Regions from separate parts of the Homo sapiens genome. Here regions 2, 3, 4, 5 and 6 are each linked to region 1. The links are contacts of gene promoters, found by promoter capture Hi-C in human tissues and cell types (Jung and others, 2019). All regions are on one chromosome and are shown on one strand. The core of a region is centred on a gene start or on the middle of the fragment in contact, and the rest is flanking DNA. Distances in the headings are between cores, read along the strand shown. Region 1 holds the start of SEMA6A (semaphorin 6A). Region 2 overlaps LINC02147 (long intergenic non-protein coding RNA 2147). Region 3 overlaps LINC02208 (long intergenic non-protein coding RNA 2208). Region 4 overlaps LINC02147 (long intergenic non-protein coding RNA 2147). Region 5 overlaps LINC02208 (long intergenic non-protein coding RNA 2208). Region 6 overlaps LINC02147 (long intergenic non-protein coding RNA 2147).

The links. The method cuts DNA at HindIII sites, captures the fragments that hold promoters and counts their contacts. A contact is called where the count stands out against the background at its distance.
Region 2: a contact is called between a fragment that was not itself captured here and the fragment with the promoter of SEMA6A in region 1, in 1 of the 25 tissues and cell types used here (dorsolateral prefrontal cortex).
Region 3: a fragment that was not itself captured here is called in contact with the fragment with the promoter of SEMA6A in region 1 in 1 of the 25 tissues and cell types used here (hippocampus).
Region 4: a contact is called between a fragment that was not itself captured here and the fragment with the promoter of SEMA6A in region 1, in 1 of the 25 tissues and cell types used here (dorsolateral prefrontal cortex).
Region 5: a contact is called between a fragment that was not itself captured here and the fragment with the promoter of SEMA6A in region 1, in 1 of the 25 tissues and cell types used here (dorsolateral prefrontal cortex).
Region 6: a fragment that was not itself captured here is called in contact with the fragment with the promoter of SEMA6A in region 1 in 1 of the 25 tissues and cell types used here (hippocampus).

What each region holds. Positions count from the first base shown.
Region 1 is chr5:116,572,798-116,577,298 of GRCh38, reverse strand. It overlaps SEMA6A (semaphorin 6A), which reads left to right and starts at 2,476. Exons shown (of 19, transcript NM_020796.5): 1 at 2,476-3,114. It overlaps SEMA6A-AS2 (SEMA6A antisense RNA 2), which reads right to left and starts at 2,881. Exons shown (of 3, transcript NR_147170.1): 1 at 2,760-2,881. RefSeq lists a silencer at 2,641-2,720 and an enhancer at 4,418-4,501. The HindIII fragment of the contact is 11,240 bases long and covers 1-4,501 here.
Region 2 is chr5:117,738,235-117,742,274 of GRCh38, reverse strand. The region is part of intron 1 of LINC02147 (long intergenic non-protein coding RNA 2147); the gene reads right to left. Among named protein-coding and RNA genes, the nearest start is that of LINC02147, 9.9 kb to the right of the region's middle. The HindIII fragment of the contact is 4,936 bases long and covers 1-4,040 here.
Region 3 is chr5:118,523,744-118,528,324 of GRCh38, reverse strand. It overlaps LINC02208 (long intergenic non-protein coding RNA 2208), which reads left to right. Exons shown (of 10, transcript NR_104610.1): 2 at 4,511-4,581. Among named protein-coding and RNA genes, the nearest start is that of LINC02208, 36 kb to the left of the region's middle. The HindIII fragment of the contact is 8,006 bases long and covers 1-4,581 here.
Region 4 is chr5:118,086,999-118,091,011 of GRCh38, reverse strand. All of the region lies in intron 2 of LINC02147 (long intergenic non-protein coding RNA 2147), which reads right to left. Among named protein-coding and RNA genes, the nearest start is that of LINC02148, 190 kb to the left of the region's middle. The HindIII fragment of the contact is 6,440 bases long and covers 1-4,013 here.
Region 5 is chr5:118,544,778-118,548,810 of GRCh38, reverse strand. All of the region lies in intron 1 of LINC02208 (long intergenic non-protein coding RNA 2208), which reads left to right. Among named protein-coding and RNA genes, the nearest start is that of LINC02208, 15 kb to the left of the region's middle. The HindIII fragment of the contact is 7,310 bases long and covers 1-4,033 here.
Region 6 is chr5:117,990,000-117,994,220 of GRCh38, reverse strand. The region is part of intron 2 of LINC02147 (long intergenic non-protein coding RNA 2147); the gene reads right to left. Among named protein-coding and RNA genes, the nearest start is that of LINC02147, 260 kb to the right of the region's middle. The HindIII fragment of the contact is 4,554 bases long and covers 113-4,221 here.

The sequences.
Region 1 (4,501 bases), core at 1,227-3,726:
CAGTGGTTTTACTGAAAACTTACTGCAGGCTTCTGGAAGTGAGTCTGAGGCGCACTTATGGGGAAATGACATCATGAGGTTTCATAGCCTGGCTTCCCCACAGGTGCTCCCCTGGGGGTTTCGGGAGCCTGACAATAGCTGGCTTTTCTTCCAGCTCCGGGAGCATCTTTTCTGGCAGGTGGAAATGTAATATCACGTGGTCAGAAGGAAGGGCTCCTACTTGGATGGTGAGACTAGGATCTAGTAATTGCCAGGAAGATTCTGGGTGGTATTTCTTCACTGTGAAAAGTAGACTCCAATTCTTTAACTCTCGTATTCTATAATTTTAAATTAGGTAAATTTAATCGCTCGCTTCTTGGCTCAGCGTTACTACAAATTAAACATGCAAGTATTAATATTGAATATAATGTCCCTTTAAACAATATCCTGAAACTCGTTGTGGGGCATTTCCAATATATCCATAAAGCAAATAAAACAACTTAATTGTTTGTTTCTCTAAGGGAAGGAGCTAAACCCGAAATTAATTTAGTTCGGCCTGTGAAACAATTCGTTTGCTCTGCCTAATTCTGCCAATTTAAGAACTTTTCCCAGACACAATTAGCATGTAAATCGGCGGCGGGGAGCGAAGAAGGAGCCTCGGCGACCCCGGTTGGGTGGAGCGCGGGACAAAAAACCCCGGAGGCCGAAGGGTCCGGAGCTTCGAAGGGGCTGCAGTACCGCGCCTGGGGCGCACGGACGAGCCAGGGGACCAGCTCACACTGACCCTGCAGTCATCAGCCAAAATCTGGGTGTTAAATAGCGCAGCCGGGGATCCAGCCGTCTTGGCCGCCAGATCCTTCTCCTAACCCCGCGGGATTCTGAGGAGACGTCCTGGAGCCGGCCCCCACCCAACCCGCGGGAAAGCGCAATCCTACCCACCGCCCCACACTCCCCAACCCCCTCCCGAGGCTGGCTCTTGAAGCCGCGGGGGCTGCGCGCGCACCTAGGGCCGCGCCCCCCACTACCCCAGGTCTATAGAGGCCTTTGCCCGAGAAAGGTGGGGATAGCGGCCCCTGCTGACAGCTCTGGAGAACAGCAGGGGTACTGATTTTTTCTTTTTTTCCTACCATTCTCCCTACCTTTTCCAGGTGGTGGTAGTGGTGCGGGGGGAATGGGTGTTGACCCATGTGCATTTATTCTTCGTGAAGCCTCTTAAGCAGATGTCTGTACTTAGAGAAGCGACCAAAGAGGGAACGTGGACTTATTAGTGGTCTTAGTCCCAATTAGGGAACAGGTACAGTTTCCAATATAAAGAAACTCGGCCTAAGTGGGACTGAGACCCCGATCTCCGCACTTGCTTTTCTCAGCCAACTCCATGACTAGTAAATATCTCTCCGAGAACTGCTGGGCCGCCCGATGTTACTTTGTTTAAAGGTTGCGACTAGGATCCGTACCATCTGCGAAGCCCCCTTGGGGAGCAAGAGCCGCGGCGCGCAGTTGATTTCGGGGCGCAGCGGCAGGGGGAGGGGAACGTGGTGTGGCCCGACGAGTTGGCACAAGCCTGTAACTGCAAGACTTTGTAGCTATTGAAAGTTCAAGTGGTGAAAGAAGGCTGTGCCTGCCATTCTTCATGTGATCATAACAATAGCGCCTTGGAAGTGGTTGCGATTTTCTTCTTCCATAAACCTTTTGGGTTCTCACTGGAATTGTATGCGTGTTATTTCTGAAGTTTACTTATTTCTAAGACCAGTCCACAAAATGTGAACTTCATTAAGTTTTAAAATAGATCGCCGTCGTTAAAAACGCCATTCTCTGCACTGTAGTTTATTTGCTTACTTCACATGCTTTATTAACGTGTGTATGTGCGTAATTAATAGCTGTGTTCTTATCTTCCAAGTGTATTTTTAACCGCACCGGCTTCTATCCAATTCATCTAACTACGTAGAGCGTCCATCGCTTCTGGAATCTACCTCTTGATAACAGTAATCAGAATCAGAAAAGCTCGCCGTTCACTTACCCTCATCCTTTAAAACTTTTCCATTTAAGAAAATCGATGAACAAAACCTTTCTTGTAACTCGCTCCTGCACTACGTCTATTTTTATTTATTTTTCTGATTTGGCAGGACTCAGCAATGCTGTCCGGGATTTTTTTTTTCTTTTTTTTTTTCCTAGCTAGAGCAGATGTGGGGGTGGGGGAGGTGAGGGCTGGGCTCCAGCCAGAGTCGCCCCCGCTGAGCCTCCGCCTAGCGCGCGGTGGGGCCAGGAATCCTGGTGGAAGGAAGCGGCGCTGGCCAGTTGGTCCAAGGCTCCACCTGCAGCCACACCGCGTAGTTTCTCCGCCTCTGCCTCGCTCACTCGCACTCACATACACCACAGCTCTCCTTTGGGTCGGAGGAGACGCCAGCCAAAGTAGGCGGAGTTGCGGAAGGAGAGTCCGATCTGCGCAATCCAGTCCGGGACTTGGCTCCGCCCGGGAGCGGCGGCCTCTCCGGTGACAGAGGAGTAGTGAGCGGCACGGGGTGAGGCTGCAGCCAACTCCGCTCCCCGCGCACTCGGCTGCCCAGGCGCTCGGAACCCAGCAGCGGCGCTCCTCCGCGGTGCCGGTCGCCCGCGATGCCCGCTTAGCAGCGTGTAGCAGCGGCCAGCATCACCACACCCGCGGCACCGCGCTGCCGGCCGCAGAGCCGGGCCAGAGCCTTGCACCCCTGCCCCAGCCCCCACCCCGCCCCCCGCCCTGAAATGACTTGTTAATCGGCGCAGACACCACCAAGGGGACTCACCGAAGTGGAATCCAAGTGGAATTTGGATTTGGAGAAGAGTTTCTTGAACATTTACCCTCTTCCTTGTTGGTTTTCTTTTTCTTTTTCTTCTTTTTTTTTTTGGCTTCTTTTTTCCTCTCCCCTTCTCCGCTCGTCATTGGAGATGAACACATCGCGTTTGCATCCCAGAAAGTAGTCGCCGCGACTATTTCCCCCAAAGAGACAAGCACACATGTAGGAATGACAAAGGCTTGCGAAGGAGAGAGCGCAGCCCGCGGCCCGGAGAGATCCCCTCGATAATGGATTACTAAATGGGATACACGCTGTACCAGTTCGCTCCGAGCCCCGGCCGCCTGTCCGTCGATGCACCGAAAAGGTACGCCCCGGGCGCCCGGGCGCGCCCCACCTCCCGGGCAGCTGGACTCCAGCCTGAGGGTCCCGGGGCCGTGGCTAGCGCGTGCTGTCGGCTTTGTGGTGCCTGCGTTTTATTTTGTCTTGTGTCTCTGTTTCCCGAGCCTTGCCCGGTCCTGGGGGAGCAGCCGTGAGCCCTGCCTGCCTTTCCTCTCTGCCCTGCGCCCCAGAGTGCGTCCGGCTCCACGTCGAGAGCTTTCCCACCCGCGTTGCGCACACGCCCGGCGCCGCCCCGGGCCGCGACGGCGCGTATGGCTGTTCCTCCTGGGGGTGTGTGTGCGAGACCCAAGGCTCATCCTCCCGCGTGCCCAGCAGGGAGCAGAGCGGGCCCTAAATGGTGGGATTCTCGGAAGCTCCCTGGCCCGGTGTGTCGAAGGCAGGGGAAGGGGTTCTGCCCTCGAGGGCTGGAGGGGGTTGGGTATAACAGCGCTGTTTTCGTCCAGTGCCAGGTGGGAGAAGGGGTTCCGCGGAGACGGTGTGGAAGCGGAGAGAATCTTTTGTTGTCAGTGTGGGGTCTGGGCTGGGCTCCGTGGAGTGCAAGAAACTTGTAATGGCTCTAGGCACCCGCGCGCCCTGTCTCTCGGTGAGATCCTGGCTCCTGTGGCCGCTGCCACCAGAGGTTCCGGGCTTTGTTTGCTCGAATAAGTGTCCGGGAGCAGCCGTTCGGGTGACGCGGCGCCCCCGCCATGGGTCCTGTCCCCCGCCGCAGCTCCCAACCCGAGCGGCAAGGATATAGCCCGTCGCGGCTGCGTCCCTCCTGAAGCACCGAGCCCTTTGCACCGGGCTGGCGCACGGTACGCCCTCCTCCCAGATCAGCGCGGTCTCGCTCTGGAAAGATGACCCAGGAGGGGGAAGGGTGAGAGACCTGGCAGAAGATGGCCCTGGGTTTGAAACCCAGACTAGGGCTCTGTTCCGACTCCTCACTGTGTCCTAGGGCGCTACCATGGGGGCAATGGGGCGCTGGAGAGTAAGCCGGGCAGTGCCCACCCACCCTGCCTGATCCTTCTGGGGCGGGAAGTGTCTCTTGTCCCGATTCTCCGCGTTTTGCTCAGCTCCTCGCTGTGGGAGATGGTGCAAAACAGGATCCTGAGGTCTCCTCCCTCCTCGCAAGACCCGAGCGGCACGGGGGGAGCCAGGGAGCGGTCCCGGGCTTGTGGACGTCGGGAAAGGAAACAGAATTCCGCTGTTTTTCCCGCTCCCTCGCCGCCCCTCCGCCCAGCGCCTCCTCCCACTTTACAGCGGCGGGGTCACTAGACCAGGCGCTCCTGGAAAGTTTCCCTGAAAGCCAGGGGCGGCAGGCACGACCGGACTGGGGCTCAGCATGTGCAGTCTGAGGGAAGCCGGACCTGGAG
Region 2 (4,040 bases), core at 866-3,365, 1.2 Mb before region 1:
AACAAGTGGATTACCTACTAAAAAAATTGAAGGAAAAGCAGAAAGAGAAAAGAATATAATTGAGAAGCACTAAAAGCACTTAGCAGAGAAAACATATTTTTCCTGCTAAAAATGCTGAGGGATGCCTCCTGCAAGATGAAGTACATTTTCCAATTCTCTGAAGTGTCAAAGTTCTAAGATAAGTCAGGCTGTTCCTGTCCAAAATTCCTGTAAGGGGAATTTATAGCCTGACTTGTTTACCCTGAGAACAGATATCAGATAAACCCTTAGGAACAGAGACAAAAGAGAAGAAAGAAAATGATGGTTAGAGAAACAGATGCCAGAGGTTCACAGAAAGGGATGGAGCTGTTAAGGGATGGAGCTGTTTGTGGGTGATAGTCACAAAGTTTCCAGAGGGTCAGGGATGGGTCTGGGGCACACAGCAAAGAGTCACACGCTCCAGAGACCAGAAAGGGAGTAATGTAGGCAACTCCACTTGGGATTAAAGTAAATAAGTTAGAGAGACTAAATGCTACTCAGGAAAGACAGCAGCAAGAGTACAGGGTATTGGGAAAGAGGGCTCTACTGGCAATCCAGAGACCTGAAACTTAGACTCAGCTTTGATTCACAAAATCTATCTGTATGTAAATCTCTCTTCATCTTTAAAATATAAGCAGATAGACTCTATTTTTTAGAGATTTTTTTAAAAGAATTTTAATCTTTTTTGTAGAGTCAAGGTCTCCTTCTGTTGCCCAGGCTGGAGTGCATTGGCACAGTCATAACTCACTGCAGCCTTGAACTCCTAGGCTCAAGAGATTCTTCCACCTCAGCCTCCCAGAGAGCTGGGACTACAGACATACACCACCACTCCTGGCTAACTTTCAGAAAAACTTTTTAGAGACAATATCTTGCTATGTTTCTCAGGCATTTTTTTTCAGGGTTTTCTCCAGCTCTGGCATTCTACAATGCTGTGAACAGTTGGTAGTTTTATGTCTAAGTTTCTTCCTTTGGTACCTGAAAGTATGCCAACGTGGCTTCCAAAGGTCTCTCCTCTTTTGACAACAAAGGGGTGTGAACTCAGATCATCTCTGTGAGTTAGAATGTAGTAAAAATAGGAGAAAGGTCCAATAGATCCCCCAAACCAAAAAAGAAAAAAAAAAAGAGGTATGAGATGGAACCTGAATGTATTGTTTTATAAAATAATACACACAACTTTCTTTAAAATGAAATATTTTCTATAGAAAGATAATCTAAACCTCCATCAAGAGGACAGCAAAATAAAGGGGCAGGGCCTGCAGGATGGAGGTGCCATAATCATTAATTATCACAACAGTACTATTGAAAGTTAATATGAGCTCCTGAAGCAACTATGAATAATGGAAAACATTTCAGGGGTTAGAGCCAGCCAGGTTGGTTCTAAAGGTGAATTTTTAACTCCCTCAGAAGTTTCAGCATCTACAAAAACTTTCAGAAGATCATACTAAAAACATAGCAGAAATCTTTCACTGTAACTCAAGTTTCTCCTTGAATAGCTAAGGGATGCAGCATATTTTCCCTTTTTCTAAGGTGACAAGACTCTTCAATGAAAATATCAAGAGGTGCCTATTCAGAAATTTTTCCAGGAATATTTACAGACTTGGCAGTTTGCCCCTAAAAATAAAAAAAAAAAATAAATAAACAAATAATTTAAAAAGAAAAACCTTCTTCAGAGTTTCTCTGAAACAGGAAAGGAAACTTTTTATTTAATTTGGCATGTCCTTGCTTCCTGCAAATGCATGGTTTATGATTAGAACAAAAAGAGTTTCTAAGTTGAAAGCTCTCAGTTTTAGTAGGCTGAAACTTTTGCTCTTGACTGTGAGAACCAAGACAGGACACCTGCACATTATCTCCATGCTATTCATTGTATAGCCTCAAATGAAACTGTTTTGAAATGGAAATTCTTGTTTGGTATCTTTCTCTGGCACATATTATTTAAATTTTCCAAAAAAGTAAAAAGGGGGAGTTATTAAAATTAAAAAGTGTTGCATATCTACTTCCTTTCTGGGCATAGAATTCCAAGCTTCTATAGCTGAAAATCTTCAATCGTTATTAAGATTCTTGCTTATGCATGAATTGATCAGTAACTGAGTTACAAGGATAGAAAAATATCTTTGGCATGGATGAGCTATTCCACCGAGTTGTAGAGACGCATGTGTCATCCCTACTGATGGTCAGGCAAGACCCACAGGGCTATTTAAATTTTCCTTTGAAAGTACTCCATGCTCAGAAATCCCTTTCCTAAAATTTATATTAAAACAGAGTTATACTTACTTTATTGAGGATAGAATTTCTTATGATTATTATTTCTGAGCCCACGGCCAACTTTGACAAACACGTTCATTTACCAGAGATAATAATGTGTGATTTTCTCTTTTAATGAAAGATAAATAATTTGGCAGTCTTGGCTTCATGAATTTTTCTATTTCAATACACTTCATTGTATAGTGTGGTGTCCTTTATTCTTGAATGAGTTAATGTGCAGAATGAAAGTGCTTTCTTTAGATCAGTTGTGCTATTTTCTGTAAGGCACTGCTATTCATACCACAGGTTTACAAAAGACCATTAAAGGCTGATATTACGATATTACGTTAAGTTCTGCTCATAATGATGTAGTTCTTTGTTTATAACTTACATAATTCGCTGTAGTGTCAAAGCTTCATCAAATTGGAACAAAAGAAATAGGAAGTACATTTCTGGGACTCTAAATAGAATAAACAAGCTTTGACCAACTCTATTTTTTATTGTGTTTCTTTGAATTAATGCAGAAGCTGTTTCCAAGTCTCAATATAAGAAGAGCAGTGATTTGTTTTATTATCTAAGATGGTATATATATGTGTGTGTGCTTAATATTTTAAAGGTAAAGCCCATATAGGAGAATTGCAGGAGTATATGACTCCAACCTATTGGATATTTCCTATCACAAACTCCTGATTAAGTTTGAATTCATACTGGATTCTCTATAATATAAAATATTTGCATTTAGTCTCAAGAGAGAGAAATTGAACTACAAGGCAGAAATACAGTAAATCATCCAATCCACTTCTTTCTTCATATTATACTGTCTAAAATAACTTGCTTTGATGATAGAAATATTCTGTATCTGCCCCGTTCAGTATGGTAGTCACCAGCCACATGTGAGAATTAAGCACTTGACATATAGCTAGTGCTACAGAACAACTGCATTTTAAATATTATTTAGTTTTTATTTTATTAAATTTAAGTAGCTATCTATGGCTAATGGCTATTGTATCAGACAGCATAGATTTACAATAATAAAAGTGATAGAAGGAGGTCTGCCGATCCGCTCCACTCCAAGGACCACCAGCCACCTCTCCTGTCTCACTCTAGGTACATTGCTCCTGAAGTTGTACATGCACACAGTCTATAGCCTTACATGATGATCTGCAGAGGGTTCTATAATTGGATGGAAAGGGATGGATACCTCACTTTCCTCCTCCATCAGGAAATTAGGACTAAACTCATTAGGCTCACAGCCAACACCCTGGAAATCTTTAAATCTCCTCCATCCCACTCCACTGTGAAGCTCAAGTTACATCTGGAACTCTTCAATGTTACGATATCACTTCCTTCTACCACCTCCTCCTTTAAGTATGTACATTTAAATCACACTTTGACTACAGTTTGGTTACTAAGAGAGTAGGGTGGGAGGCAAGAGTGCTTTCACAACAATCTGCTCTACATCAAAGGTAGACACATTTTAAAAATGCAAACCATACTCATGTTCAACTTCATAATCTGATCTTGGCTTGTATGCTTAACAGGAATGTCAGAATGCCTATTCTGACATTATAAAAAAAATCCCAAATACATGATAGAATAATTTCTCCTTAATTCCATTCTCCCCCTGATCTTCTCCATCTCAGTATGTGCTATCACCATTTACCCAGTTGCACAGGCCCAAAACAAAATTAGTTTTTCTGTCCATGATCTCTCCAACTACCGTCTATATCTAATCCATCAGTAAGTCTTGTTGGCTCTGCCTTCAAAACGTATCCAGAATC
Region 3 (4,581 bases), core at 1,364-3,863, 2.0 Mb before region 1:
CCGAGGCAACACAAAGGAGGAGATGGTCTCTTCTACCTGTGGAGACTGGGGTAAGAGTGTGTGGGAGTGGAAGAGAAAACACTCCAGGCAACAAGAAGGCATTGGAGGTATGAAACAGCCAGGTGTGGTGCATAAAGGCAAAAAAGCTAAGATTGGTTGGATCATGCATTAAAATGGCAGGACTAGGGGGTTAAAGAGAAGAGGCTAGAGAGAGAGAGAGTTGGGAAGAAGGCAGGAAATAGGTTTCTTTAGTGCTTACTGAGTTTGAATTTTATTCATTTCTATGCCATCAAATGCTTTTAATCAGGGAAGCAATATAATCCAAACAAAGAATTTTGATTAAGTCTGTATACAGCAGGGATGGATACTATTTGAAAGGTGTTTGAGTAGTAGACAGGTGGGCAGTTGAGAGACTTTTGCAGTTGTCCTGGCAAGAGATGATGAAGGCCTGGATTAGATGAGGAGCAGTGGGAATGGAAGGTAGTCCCTACAGTCAAACTCAGTGTATTGTTCTACTGTCAACTACCTTGAATACTTCTTGTGGGCAGGAATCATTTCATATTTTCAGTTAATGTCACAGTTCAATTCCAAGCACATGAATCCCCTTTTAAATTTTCCCTTTTTAGTGCATTTACTAAAAAAATTCTGCAAAGGATCTGAGTTGGTATGACTTCAAAGCATACAAATGTTTTTGCGTTTGAACTGCTCTATGGTAGGAAGTGAAATTTAGCCCTGTTTCCTGCCATATCCCCATGTGGGCAGAGTTACTATCATCATTATTTGGTTTTGGAAGCAGTGATTCACAGATGAAAATAACCTTGGAATTCGAAAGAAAAATCGGGAGGAAAATCAGAAGTATTACCAAAATAATTTTTTCTTCTATCAGGACTCTAGCTATTTATGTTTTCATATAAGTAAAACTGAAATATAGTAGCAAGTGTTAAAGCAATTTAAGTGTTTCAAGCTCTTAACTGAGTGTCCTTGAAGCCTATAATGTTTGTGGTAGGTAGTTCCATTGCTGTAAATCTGTGTTGACAGGTGCAAATTTATACTAACAAATTAATAACACAAGTCAGAAAAATAAACCCCAGCTCTGAAAACATTGTATTAGCTATAGAACTAATAATATCAAGAAAAAAAAACAGATCAAATGCTTTCTGACCATTTTGTCTCTTGATTAGACTGAGCTGTTTATAGATGAAATTATAACACTTGGTATTTTCCTCACCTGTGTTTTTCACTTGTGGAATTTATTCATCACATCTGTCATGATTTGTATATCTAGAGAAAAGTTTTAAAGGTGAACTAAAAACTTAAATATACAGCTATGACAAGGCTTCACATTCTGTCTCTGCACTGTGACACTTTAAACCTCCACAAGTTATTTATCATCCAGTTTCCAGTTTCTAGGTTTCTTCTTTAGACCTGTGATAGCTTAGTAAGTGAATATTTTCTTGTTTTACGTCCTCCATACTAGATCTCTTGAATCTCCTTGAAAGAAGGGATTATATCTTGTTCAGCTTCGATCAGTTTTTATTAATAGTAGAATGTTTTGGCATCTAATAGGGTCATTTAATCAATACTGGTTGAATAAGAACAGATGTCCCCTCTTTTAGAAAAGGGAATAGTTGTTTTTGAGGTGAGCAGATGTCCACTCTTTTAGAAAAGGGAATAGTTGTTTTGGGTGAAAAATGTAGGTATGAGTAAACTGAATCGACAGAAATCATTGAGAAAGTGGGAAAATGCCTGGCATGATGTATGATATGTTGAATTTTATGTTTACTGAGTTAGGCAAAAACACCGTTAAAACCATTTTGATGTGGATCTTAAGGTTTTTTGACTTCTGAAGTTCTAGATGAGGAATAATTCTTTTTAAAAAATAATATCACTTAAAATTCGGATTTGTAAGAACAACTGCTTATACTTCTTTCCTAAAAAGAGAAACCCTACAAAACCTTAATTATATATATAGATAGCTATACTCTGATGGTTCACATGCATATCTCACAGGTTATGTTGTTACCTCTATGTCTGGTAGGTAGAGGTGAAACAGCTAGGACACCAATCATCCCCTCGATCAACTGGACTACACTATCTTTTCAGGCTGTCTGGACTACAGTCTCCATCCTCTCCTCCTGCTCCATGTGCAGTCTGCCTGTGCTAGTTTCCTCCTGCTGCGGCAACAAATGATCACAAACACTCTGGCTTAAAACAACACCCACAGTTCTGTATGTCAGAATCTTTGTAGGTTTAATAGGGTTCTCTGCTCAGGGTCTCCCAAGGGCCAGATCAAGGTTTCCGTCAGGCTGGACTCTTTCTGAGAGGTTCTGGGGATGAATCAGTTTCCAAGCCTATTCAGATTGTTGGCAGAATCTTTTTTTTTTTTTTTTTTTTGCAGTGTGGAACTGAGATTCCCATTTCCTTACTGGCTGTCAGCTAGGGTCCACTGTCTGCTACAAGGGCCCCCTGAGTCCCTTCTCATGTGGCCCCCTCCATCTTTCATCCAGCAGTGTTACACTGAATTCTTCCTCTGCTCTGACTCTTTCTGACTTTCCCTTTGCCTTCCTCCCTGTCATAAGCCAGAAAACGTTGTCTGGTTTTAAGGGCTCATGTGATTATATTGTGCCTACCAAGATAAACCAGTATAATCTTCCCATCTTAAAGTCAACTGACAAGTGGCCTTCATTACATCTGCAAAGTCCCTTTTGTCATGTAACAAACATACTCGTGTGTGATATCCTGTAGTCACAGTTTCTGGGGGGTAGGGCAGGGCATTTTTAAGAGGCTGCCTTAGAAATCCGTCTATTGCACCCCCTAAAAAACAAACAAACAAACAACAACAAGAAAAACTTTGCCAGATAGAGGCCAGTCAGTCTTCCGTAGAGGGTATCTATGGCTAACAGTCCATTAGCAAAATGCTGTCACTTTGTGTAATGCCCCTGTGAATTCCTCTTAGGTCTATGTTTCAGAGTAGTTCCTGGAACTGAGACTTTCTATTATATTTTATTAATATCAAAATAAATTACCTAGCTAACAATAAGAGGACTAAAACTTAGGGCACATTTTCTGTGAATATATGAACTTTTTCATGCACAGAAGGTATCAGTTAATTTTATGGTCCCTCAGCTATGTTACTGGTACTTATAACACCATGTGCCATGTAAATACCTTTGAAAATGTCATACCATGGTGTAGCACTGAATAAGAACATGAATGCAGATGACTGTCCAATCCCAGGCAATAGAATTAGGTGGTGGAAATTACCACTTGTGGATAAAGCTTCTTCTTTTTTTTTTTTAATCACAAGCTAGGACAGTTTTCAGGAACAATTCATATTTTATGAAGAGCTGTCACTGAATATCCACCATCATCATCAGCTTCCAGGTGACAGTCAAGAGAAGTTGTTTGACTTTTAGTAACTAATTCAATAAGGAAATTAAAAAAACCCAACAATTGTGATCACATAAGAAGCGCAGAGTAAACACTTGGAATTATACTATCAATACTAAAGTTGCTATATAGAAAAAGATTTGAAAGTATGGCTTAAAAAGTGTGGCATCATGATGGTATGATGGCCAAAAGTGATGATGAAGAATCTTTAGACTTTTGAAATGGAAGGGCATTTCTACTCAAACTGACTTTTTAAATGTAAAACGCATCTTCTAGATTTATTTTTATTATAAGTGAGACAGAGCTAATTTATATATAAAATATCCACACTGCTCTTTATGAATGGTTTTCTGTTCATTTTCACATTAGGAGTTTTATTACTGATCGAACTGATCTTGATACTGAAGAATAAAAGGGTTACTAGTTGTTTAGTATTTATCAGTTAGTTTTAAATTTAATTGTGTATCCATTCCCCCAAAAGGTGTTGTTAAGTTGCTGTGTCTTACAATTGATGGGAACTGAGAAGTGAATAAGAGAACACAGAGCCACACATTAAAAGTGCCTAAAGACAGATACAGGTAGTATCTGTATGAAATATTTGACACAAAGAAATTTATACTATTTTATACATTATACATTCCCCCCCCGCCACTCACCCCATTGTCTGTTTTTCAGGCTTGTTTGTTTTTAGGGTATGTACTTTGGAATGAGAAAGGAATTTTATAACAGTAAAGAAGGCATTATACTGATTTATTAAAATTTAAAAATAAACTGTAAGTGGTATAATATGGATGATTGGATACTGACCTGAGAAGAAATTTCCATATGTAACTTTTAATGACATCGGTATTATGACCATTGGTGAGATACTGTATTCTGCAGACATTTTTCTCTCTCCAACATTGGAGATGATGGAATCTTCTCTACATCTTCCTGCATGAGACTACTTGTAAGAACAAAGGTGGTTGGTGCTTATTTAATGCACCGAGTTCTTTTGTAGGGAACCTTTAAATCACTATTTTGATTTAATTCTGAATCAATTTTATTCTTGAACCGGGAAATCATATTTTAACATGAACTTGCAAATAGTTCAGTGCTTCACTCCCAATTCCTATTTCAGCATCCTTCACCGAAGCACGAAGCAGAATCAAGCTGTTGCCATGAAGCTTGTTTCAAGAGCTCAGAAATACT
Region 4 (4,013 bases), core at 830-3,329, 1.5 Mb before region 1:
ACAGTTAGTTTTCTTGTAGCCAGCATTTAGTTGGGTCTTATTTTATTAATCTACTCTGACAATCTCTGCTTTTTAATTGGTGTATTTAGAAAATTCACATTTAAAGTGATTAATGATACAGTTGAATTAATACCTACCATGTGTATAATTACTTTCTATTTTTGCATTTTTTTTTCTGGTAGTTTTTCTTTTTATTCCTTTCCTGGTTTTATTTATTTGAGCATTTTTGTATTGGTTTATTTTATCTCCTCCCTTAATATATCACCTTTTCTTCATTTTCACATTTGATAGTGATTGTACTAGAGTTCACAATATCCTTTTTTTTTTTTTTTTTGAGTCAGAGTCTCACTCTGTTGCCCAGGCTGGAGTACAGTGGCATGATCTTGGCTCACTGCAACCTCCCCATCCCAGGTTCAAGTGATACGCCGACCTCAGCTTCCTGAGTAGCTGGGATTACAGGCATCCACCATCATACCTGGCTAATTTTTGTATTTTTAGTAGAGATGGGGTTTCACCATGTTGGCCAGGCTGGTCTTACACTCCTGATCTCAGGTGATCTGCCTGCCTCGGACTCCCAAAGTGCTGGGATTACAGGTATGAGCCACCATGTATACCCACAATATACATTTTTAATTTATCTAAGTCCACCTGCACTACTTCATTCATACCTATAGCATAGTATTCCCAATTTCTTCTTCCTTTCAATGACGTCGATCTTATTTGTTTTATTTTTTCACATTCTATAATCACTCAATGCATTGTTACTATTATCACTTTAAGCCAATATTTACCTTTTAGATCTACTAAGAATAAGAAAAAAATCTTATTTTTATACCTTCTCTCACATTCTTCCTTTCTTTATGTATATCTAGTTTCCGAGCTGTATTTTTTCTCTCCCTAAACAATTTATTTGTTCTCTTTTAGTATTTCCTAAACCGAAATGATAGAAATTGAAGCAAAAATGTTATGAGAGGTAAATTTTTAATGACAATGACCTGGTTCCAAAACCTTGTAGAAGATAATTCTCTTTAAAGGGAACTTGGGTTCCTTAATTTAGTTTCAGGAATTTAAAAAATCTAACCAGGGTAAATAGGTTATTGAATGTAAGAGTAGCGTCTTGTTTAGTGGTCTGGTTCAGCTTTGCTTCTTACCTCCTGCCTGTTGTAAAGGCATTTTGGAATTTCTCTTGGGTTTGATTATTTGATAAGAGTGAGATGATATACTTCAAACATTCAGAGTCTGTCAGATTTAGTCTAACATAAATAATAAAAAATGACTCAATGAAAAATAAGATGTATTAATTTCCTATTGCTGCTCTAAGAAATGGACATAATTTTAGTGGCTTAAAACAATGCAAATATAGCAGGCTATCTTACAAGTCTGGAGGTAAGAAGTCTGAAAAGCATCTCATTGGCTAAAATGAAGGTGCTGGTAGAGCTGTGTTCCCTTTTGGAGACTCTAGGGGAGAATATATTTTCTTGACTTTTCCAGTTCCTAGAGGCCTCCCTTATTTCTTGACTCATAGCCTCTTATAGTTTCAAAGCCAGCAAGAGCTGGGTTAGTCTTTATCAAATTTATATTACTCTGATATTGACTCTTCTTCTACCCCTCACTTCTACCTTTAAGAACCCTTGTAATTACATTGGGCTCACCCAAATAACACAAAATACTCTCGCCATTTTAAGGCTAATTAGCAACCTTCATTCTGTCTACAGCCTATTTCCCTCATGCCATGTAATATAATATATTCACATGTTCTGAGGATTAGGACATCTTTGCAGAACCCATTATTCTGCCTACCTTTTAGGTCGTCCAGATATAATTTTCATGTAATGTGAAGGTTAAGTGTGGAGTATGGGGGCTGTGAAGTACTAGGTAAGGATTAGCCTAGCACCCAATCTCTTTTTCCTTCTCATTGAAACTTGATGGTTGATTGGCTAGAGGTATTTATGTAAAGGAAGGAGCAAAGGATTTATGGGGATTCTGGCTTGGCTGGCAGAATGCGTGGACGTTCTAATCATGGAGAGGAGGAGGCTCTTAGGAGTTGATTGAAGCAGGTGAAGAACTCAGTTTGACATTAAACTCGAATTACCAAGTGGATGTTTCTTATATAGTTAAATAGGAGCATGAGGTTTAGTAGAGAGAAATATGTGCTGAAGATAAAACTTAGGAGTTGTTCACATATAGTAGGTAATTAAAATAGGAATAGTGGCTAAAATCTTCCTAGGAGTACTTGCATAATAAAAAATAAAAGAAGAGGGCCTGACCTAGAAATCTAAAAGTGAACATTAATAAGCTAGGCTCAGACTGATTTTTCTGTGAAGAAGACTGAGAAATAGTGGACAGACAGGTAGGGCAACACTAAGAGGATGATGTCATGAAGCCTCAGGAAGAAAGTACCTCTAGAAGATGGACACATTCAGAAGTACTAAATGACAGAGAAAGCCAATTAAGCTAAGATCTGAAAAGAAGCAGTTGACTTTCAATGTGAACAGATAATCTTGACAAGCATTGGACCAGTGCTTTGGAGACAGCAGTAGCCCCATTCAAGTGTTTTAAGAAGGGAAATGGAGGTAAGTAGCTAACTGGAGAGTAATGAGGTGGTATTCAAAGGGGCCAAGGGGAGAGCATGAGAAAAACCTGAGCACTTGATGTTATGATAGAACAGGGCAGGGGCAGGGGTGGTGCTGATGAAATTTTTCCACCTCAGATCATCAGGCATCAGATTCTCAGAAGGAGCATGCAACCTAGATCCCTTACATGCATAGTTCACAATAGGGTTCTCACTCCTATGAGAATCTAATGCTGCCATTGATCTGACAGGAGGCAGGACTCAGGCAGTAATGCTGGTTTGCCAGCCACTCACGTCCTGCTGCGTGGCCTGGTTCCTAATAGATCACGGATGGGTACCGATCCATGGCATGGGGGTTAGGGACCCCTGGGTTAGAGAGATTTGTGAGAAATAAGTTTAAAGTAGCTGTCCATGATAAGAAAGAGGCAAATCTTTTTACAGTGTTTGACAGCTAAGTCTAGCCACATTCTAGTGTACTGAGAATGGAAATAGAATTAAGTAGCTAATTGGAGGGCAACAGGATGATATCCAAAGTGGGTAAGACTAGCAAATAAATGTAGCAAATAAACTTTTACACTTCGATCTATTTTTTTCCTGAAGATTGCAATCTCCTTTGGCAACTTGATTCATAAAGACATTGCAGTAGCCTTACTTCTAAAGTGGTTCCCAATGACCCCCAATTCCTGACATTCATACCTTGTGTAATCCTCTCACCTTAAATGTGGGATGGACTTGATGACTGGCTTCTACCAAGTAGAATATACCAAAAGTGATCGATGTCACTTTTGATATTAGGTTATGAAAACCGTGATTCCATGTTGAAGGCACTTTCTCTTCCTTATTCACTTGCTCATTCTGATAAAAACCAGTTGCCATGTTGTGATCTACCCAATGGAGAGATCTATGTGGCAAGGCACCAAGGAGGGAGGCCTCTGGCTAATAGCTGTAGAGAAAGTGAGGCTTTAAGTACAGCAGCTCATGAGAAACTGAATCTTGGCAACAGCCAAGTGAGCAAGCTTGTAAATGAATCTTGCTCCCAGTTGAAGTTTGAGATGATGAGAGCTCTAGCCAGCTCCTTGATTGTAGCCTTGTGAGAGAGTCAGAGCACAGGACCCAGCTAAACTGTGCTAGGATTCCTGACTTACTGCGACATAATGAATACTGTTGTTTTAAATCACTAAGTTTTTTGTTATTTACACAAATTTATGGGGTATATGTAAAATTTTGTTACATGTATATAATGTATAGTGGTCAAGTTAGGGCATTTAGGGTTTCCATCATCTGAGTACAGTACATTTTTGTTAGCTATAGTCACTAGGTTTTCAGGTAGTGTGTTACACAGCTCTAAATAATGAATGCAAATATCATGTTCTCTCTTAGGAATTTTTCTTTTATTATTATCAATAGAGAGCAAGGTGTAAGCTAGGTGCATGGTGAACAT
Region 5 (4,033 bases), core at 300-2,799, 2.0 Mb before region 1:
TCCTCAAATTTTTTCTTGGAAATATCTTGTATCTGTCTGGGATGTTGAGGATCTGTTGTACTGTTTGATGATATTATATCTTGTGCTGTTATTTATTGCAGTTTATATAGATATCTTATTTTGGTGATACCTTAGCTTAGAGAACAGGGATCATTTGTATTATGCCTTTGACTTCTTCATAGCATCTCACTCACTGCTGTTTTTTCTGGATCAGCCATCCCTTGTCTGAGCAGAGGATTATAGAGTCTCATAGTCTGCAAATCAGACTGGCATATGGTTAAGAACATGGTTTTAAGATGCCTCGTTTGAAATACCACTCTGTCACCCAGTAGTGACATTCTACATCTCTTAAGAGCCTTGCTTTTTCTCATCAGTAAAATAAGAATAAAATTAGTAGTTACATGTGAGAGTTTTTTTTTTTTGTGAGGATTCAGTGAGATAAGTATATGAAACTCAGCAGAGTGACTAGAACTTAGTATGTGCTTGATAAAAGTTCGTTGTTCTTGTCTTTGGTTGTTACGGCCACAACAGTGAAGTTCTATAGCTGAGGCCAGAATCTCTTTAGCTGGGCTGAGTCATTCTCCACAGAACTAAGGGGCAATAAGGTGCTGCCTTTTAGTCCACGTGATCAATGACTGTAGCAGGCAAATGGTAACCTATATATTATGGGCTGAAATGTGTTCCTCTTACACCTAGGAAGTTACATGCATATCATATAGAGGAGAAAGAGAGAACACCAGCTCAGTCAGACAGGTCAACCCAGAGGCATGACATGTGTCACAGTCAGAGGGTCCTACAACCCTAGTTCTACCATCAGAAATCACATACAGAGCTGCTACTGTAGGGCCACATTCAGGACTGGGTTTGACCTGTTGATGGGGCAGAACATTTTGGAGCCTATGCTGGCAACAGAGAGTCAAGCATCTGACTTCTTCCAGGGACTTCTGCTCTCTTAGGGGGCCCTTTCTGTTTCCAGCTCAAGCTGCTTGTGCCTCAGTCTATGGGCAGTGGAATCTTTCTTAGTTAAATAGCAGAGTCTGCATGTAATTTAAACATTGTACAGGCTCTGGTACTGCCCTGCCCCCTCTTCCCCTTAGGTTGTTTGTCCTCTAAAGACTTAGGGCCCTCATCACAGTCCACAGTCAAACAATATGTGCAGAATGAAGGTGAACGATAAAGGGAGAATGGACTTGTGTTTTTGGTTTAGTTCTTTTCTCTTCTACCCCAGTACCCTTTGGATCCTTTAACATAAAAAGTATAAGAGAATTAAAACTAAAGGCAGAAATGCAGGTGTTATAAATTTTAAATAATCTCATGAACGTTCAAGATTTTTAAATCATTTTAAAAATGAAGTGGTAGTGGAGGGTGTGTGGCTTCTGGGATTTAATGAAGAATTTGAAATTATAATTTTCATACCTGTCTTTGATTTAATGCCAAATGTCTTCATCTGACAAATGAAAACTATCTGATTATTACCTACTCTCTCTTTCCAGATGAAGAGTAGTAGCTGCTAAATTATTGTCAAATATTTTGGAAATATGAAATGCTGTACAACAATAGTAATTTGCATGGTAATGGGCAAGAACCAGGTCTTTATACCCCATTACCACAAGTGATTAACAAGAAGATTAGAAGATTAGGCAGGATAGTCTGTCTTTGGGGGCCATTGTGGAGACTGGCAAATGCCTAGGTTTGCAAATCTCCTTTTTCTCTGATTGATAATAGAGTAACCTCATGTGTTGTTATATGTGGATATTGCTGCACGAGACAGAACTCATGATTTGCTGCAACCCAATACTCTGCTCTTTGAGTAGCCCAGGCAATGTCCCTCCTTAGCCCACTGCTCCCACCTCATTTATCCTGCTCCCTGCTACTTCTTGCCTTTCTTTCATATTGTCTCCCAAGCTAAGAATGGGCCGTTTGTTGTTCTTAGTTATGGCAAATTCCACACAGAGAACCCATCTCCAAACAGTTCAATCTTGTGCTACAACCTCTAATGTGGCAACAAAACCTATAAGACTAACCATGGACCTGGGGCCAATTTTTTAAAACTCTGAGGCTCAGCTTCCTGATCTTCAAAAAAAAAAAAAAAAAATGAATGTGATATTTACTGCTCAGGATTAATATAAGATTAAATAAAATAATGTGAACAATTAAGGGTCAGTAAATTTTCTGAGTCTATGGACTCTCTTTGACTAATGGGACCTTTGATGACACCTTCTTTGTTTGAATTCACATTATGTTTACAAGATTTCAATGTGTGACACATACCTCAATGCTTGAACAAGAATAGTTTCATGTTATCCTCTTACTGTGTTACATGTATAAAAAGCCCACATCCTGTGTTTCTCAAATTGCCTTCTGGAGAGCAGAGGAGATGTTTTAATTGAATATCTACTGGGAATCTAAGTAAGGCATAGAATCAGATTTTTAGAGCTAGAAGGGAAAGCAGGGATGTGTTGAATTTTCCAGATGGCCACCACGATAACTCCCATCCTTCGTGCTTTCCTACGATGTCAGGAACCTGATCGGAAAGTGAAGTCAAATTCTTCTCCCTTGAATCTGACTGAACTTGTAAATGCTTTAACCAGTAGAGTGGAGGGCATACTATATGCTTTCCAAGGTTATAGAATGCCGTGTTCTTTCTGTCCTGTCAAACAGGATCATCACATTTTGGAGTTCTCAGTCCTGTGTACAAAGTCCAACTATCTGAGGCCACCATGCACTTAGGATGTCCAGGCCACCTGGAGAGGCTACCAGATATGTGTATGAAGAAGTTGTCTTGAAAGTGGATCTTCCAGCCCATGTTATTCTAGCTACAGCTGTTTGAGTCTCCTTGTACAAGCCCCAGACATCATGGAATGGAGAAGAGCTGAGCCACGGTGTCCTCTCCAAATTCTCAATCCACAAAACTCATGAAAATAATAAAATGATTGTGTCTTTGTGCTACTAAATTTAGGGAAATTTGTTATTCAGCAAAGATGATTAGAACAAGAGACCACAATTTGACTATCATATTTCAGAAATGACACAGATCCAGAGAGGTTAAATAAATCATTTTATTCAAATGAAGACTTAGTGGTAGAGTTATTCTTAAGTACTGGCTTTAAGATCCATGCGCAATTCACTACTACATCATGTACCTTCTTAGCTCTTGACATCAGCCCTGAATATTTGCATAGTTAAGACTTGACTTTAGGCTTCTGTACTCAAGGGGCACACATTCTAAGAAGTATTATACTCACATAGTAAGCTATGAGGAAATTAATTACATTATAAGCCTAGCAGAGAGGATTCTGCTGCAGACTTTAGGTAGTGAGAGATATTGGAAACTCCCAGAGAAGGGACAGAGATGAAGAAATGGAAATAGAGAAAAAGTGAGAGTTCTGCAGAGATTGAAGCCTTGCAGGGGAGGGAGGGGTAAGCAGCAGAGCATGGGGGTAAAAGTCATGAGACACTGGTGGAAAAAGAAGGGTTGAAGTTGCTTGAACTCTATTCAGGCAAACAACTGTGCGCCGACAAGAAGAAGGCTGATAAGCAGCTTTAGACTGTCTATAGCTAAAGGGGAAGTGAGAGGCAGGCAGCATATGGAGCAGGAAAGAACAGAGGGGGAGACAGCATGAGGGGAGAGAGAAAGTTGAGGAGAGAGATGGGGAGCCCGAGCAAAGAAGTAGGAAAACAGTTGGCCCTAAGTGTCCAAAGAAATTAGGAAGAATTGGAGACAGTGGGAGATGATGACAGAAATAAAACCACAAAAAGTTCAAGGAAAACATTTGGAATGCAAATGAAAACAGTAAAGTGTGTGTAGAAGAAACGGAAAAAAATGGAGGCTGAAATACATTTGAGGTGAAAACAGTAATTGATTCAATTGTTCATACAAGAAAACAGTTTGGATGAGAGTTTAAGCAGCATGTCACATTTTGAGTTACCTGGTTACTAAGAGGCCACATTGTATTTCTAAGATGTTTCTAAAAGTGGAGTTTGATTTGTCCTTTTATTGTAAGAGAAATTATACCTACAGAAACGTAAAAAA
Region 6 (4,221 bases), core at 1,140-3,639, 1.4 Mb before region 1:
GGGAACTTCAGCAGATTTACAGCCTTGTCTGGACTTGTCCAGGAGTAACACTGTAGTGTCAATAGCCTCACTGAAAACAAACTTGGTGGATAGAAAGGACCACATTTAAATATCTCAAGTCTGATATCTACTTGGTAACATGGTAGGAAATTTTTCCTTTAGTTCCTATGTGTGTTAATCTGGAATTCCATTAGTTTTTTTTTTAATTAGCCTTTGAGCTCTTATTAAGAGTATGAAAACAAGAACTGCTGATGCCAATGACTGGTTAAGACTATTAAGAAAATATGAGAGGTAAATCAAAGGAAAAAACAGTGAAAGTAAGGTTATTTCTGTAAAGGAGATACTTTAATATTATAATACTGCTGTTTGTAAAATATATCTCAATTGTCTTTTCTATTTATTTCTGTAAAAAATTTCAAAATAATGGCCAGATGTGGTAGCTCATGCCTGTAATCCCAGCAATTTGGGAGGCCAAGGCGGGCGGATCACTTGAGGTCAGGAGTTCGAGACCAGTCTGGCCAACATAGTGAAACCCTGTCTCTACTAAAAATACAAAAATTAGCTGAACATGGTGGTGCATGACTGTAGTCACAGATACTTGGGAGGCTGAGGCAGGAGAATCTCTTAAACCTGGGAGGTGGAGGTTAGAGTGAGCCGAGATGGCAACAGAGTGATTCTGTCTCAAAAAATATATATATACACACACACATATATATATGTGTACATATATATACGCATATATATGTATGTATATACGCATATATATGTATATATATGCGTATATATGTATGTATGTACGCACATATATGTATATATATGCGTATATATGTGTATATATGTATATATATGTGTGTGTGTGTGTGTATATATAATATTTTTCCAAAAGTATGCCGTTAGCTATTTTTACTTTCCCCCTTACCCCCAAAAGACCCGGTTGTCCTCCCGGAAAAAATTGGTACATAAATCTAATTGAACATAAGCATTTATGTATCTTAATGGACAGAATTGATGTTGATATTTTTCATAGCATAATATAAACAATAGTATAAAGGGAGAAGGAATAAGAAGGCTGCTGCTGCTGTTGCTACTGATGATACTAATGAGGATAATGATAGGGTAGCAGTTCCTAAACCATTATTCTGATACTGGCACAGGAGTCAGTGGTTTACACTAATATTTCCATTTAATTTTTATGATAAATATATGTGAACTTAAGCAAAGAAGGATTAAGTGGTAGTGATTAAGCAGAGTTGAAGTTGGAATAAAAAAAAGTTGATTGTGATACCATACAGACATGGCAGCCGATGAGAAGGCCCAGGCACAATGAAAAACAGAGCATTCGCAGAAGGGAAGGGCAGATAACAAGTGACCAATTCTGTAGATGTACCTCTGTGGGTCCCCCAAGAAAGATGCAAAGTGATGTCTCCATTAGACACAGCTTATTTTCAAGAAAGCCTAGAGAGCTTCTTTCTACTGGCTATTTTTGTGACTATGAAGAAAGTGTACCTTCCCCACTCCACCCTCCCCCACCCCAATCTATTTCTCTACCTGTTATTATAAATGCCAAAATCTAAGGCTGAAAGGATTAAGTTGCACTATGCCTAAGTTCTTTCCTCTCATATATTCCAAATTTCTCAATTATTTCCAATTGTAAGATTTCTCTGACCCCAGGGCTAATGCTTATCAATCAATTATATTAAATTTACTTTATGTAACTTAGGTTGTCTTACTTCTCTTAGATGCCTGCTTAACCACCAGTGCAGCAATTTCAACTTGAAACACAGTACTGAGTAGGTATAAATGGCAAAAGACTGGGTAATTGCAGGTACTGTTTATGAACAGCCTGCAAGAAGTTCATCAAATTTCCAATAACTAATTATAATTGTAGTCATTTTCAGGGGAGAAACTGAAGAGAACTATTTGTCTTCAGAGAAGAAGCTTAAGCGAACCATTTGTCTTCTCGAAACTGCTTATGAAAAAATTTTTCACAAATTTTATTTCTATCAAAGATACAGAAAGTCTGATACTAGAAGAATTCTGACATATGAATCTGTTTATTTTTACATATGTATGATTCCACAGATCGTGTTGCTTATAATTCCTATCTGTTTTAAGTTAACTTGTGTCCTTAACTGAGCAAGGCAATGCAACATTATTTTGTGGGAAATCTCTGGAACTAACCCCATCCCAAAATAATTTCAAGCAATAACGTTAAATGAGGTACAAATTACAGGGAAATGCAGTTTGAAAATGTTGCTAAATGAATAGGAAAAAATATTTGAAGCACCACTAAGAGGTTAAAAATTAAGATTCAAAGATGAAATTTAGAAAGATTTTGAATGTTGCATCAAAGCAAGGATAAAGCAACTCCTACTCCTAGAAAGCCCATGGTTTTGGAGCAGCAATCAAAGCTGTTCTGGAAAAGTTTGAGGGCAGAATGGATGGCCCCCCTGTACTTGAGCTCTCATTTCTGGCTACTGGTTGAGAGAGAAATGGCTGCTGGGGGAAAAAAGAGACTTTAATACTGGCTGCCTAGTGTGACAAACTGTACCCTGAACCCGGAATGCCCATTAGTCCTTCATTCCTACTAAATCCAATGGCAAAAAAAGAGATAAAGTCACACACACATACATAAACAAAACCAACAGAGCCAAAAATGAAGTGAGTGTGCAAAAGCTTTAGTTTTACTTAAAGTGATGATTTTCTGATAATACAACATACGAATTCTGAGGATTTACATGTTGAAATCTCATTTTATAACATTTCCACTCAAGCCATCCCATAAAACTTGCAAACTTGCAATGCTGCATTGAGCTCATTAAATAGTGCCAGTATTTATAAGGATAATTCAAAATACAGTGCTCCTTTGTAAAATTGTCTGTAAGAGAATTAAATTTATACTGATGCAATACATTATACTGTTGTTGAAGTTAACTAGAAGTTCAACAATAGTTATATTAGGAGGGCTGCCAAATAGACAAACATAAAAGTCAGGGAGGTTGACTTGACTGGGAGAGGTTAGCAAGTTTCTGGCAGCTGTCGTTGCTACCTGTCACTTGGTGACTGGAGTATTGATCCTGAGAGTTAGTTCTTCAGGCTCCATCCTGTCATAGATGTTTGTCTTTATTACCTGTTTCATCAGGCAGCTATTTGGTGTGACCACAGTTCTAGTTCTAACAACTGGATTTTAGAATTACAGAGTCTTAGAGTTAACAGGCATTTTGCAGATCACTGACTACTATCCATCATTAATTCATTAACTGAGTCCCTTTTGGAGGATGTAGGACCCACTGCCATGTAGCCTCTGCTAAAATGCCTCGGGGATCAGGAATTCACAACTCAAATTATTAGGGAGGGGGAGGCTTACTTATTAGAAAGACCCTTTTTAGAACTGAAATCGGTTCTCCCTAGGACTAGGTGTGAGCATTTAAAGAGTGGCTAGCAGCTTGTTAAATTTTCAGTTGATCATTAAACGGGAAGTCAAGAGTAGAGTGGTCTTTCTGTCTTCAACACAACTGTCATAGTTTCTGCGGCATGGAGAACTAGATTTAGAAGTCTACTGAATTCAAAATCTGAATCCCATTCATTCCCTCCTGTCTCATCACAACTTTTTCTCTATCAATACCCTGGGTTCACAAGGGAGATATGAACACATACATATGGAAGTAAACACCATGCGTGCATGCGCACACACACACCCCCATCTATGGACAAAATTGCACAAATTAGTCTTAAGGATATTTTGCTCTTAACCCCAAAGCCATCCTCTGTGAGCTGGTTGAATCCTATGAAGGATTCTTTTGCCCATAAAAGGCAGCCAACTTTCTACTGCATGCAGTCCATAAGCATGTATATTATGAAGAGGAAATAGAAGCTGTTCTTTGAAACTGGAAAATAGGTGTGTTTTTTTTTTTCTAAAATTTAACAATTACTCTGTCCAGTGTAGCTATGCAATTCTTAGTTTTCAAGCAAAGCATCCTCCAAGACAAGGGTGGGAAACAGAAAATTTCAGAACAGACCACAGCCTAATAAAGCCTAATTTCTCCATCCAGTCTGGTTGCCTTTGATCCTTCTGCATCTAGTGGCTATGATTCTACAAATTTATCAGGTGTTAGTTTCTCAACTACTCTTTGGGGCTTTCACATCAGATATATATATGTTAAATAGCCAAAGAAAATTACTTAGAGAGGCACTGAAAAATAATGAATTAGTTTTTGGCAC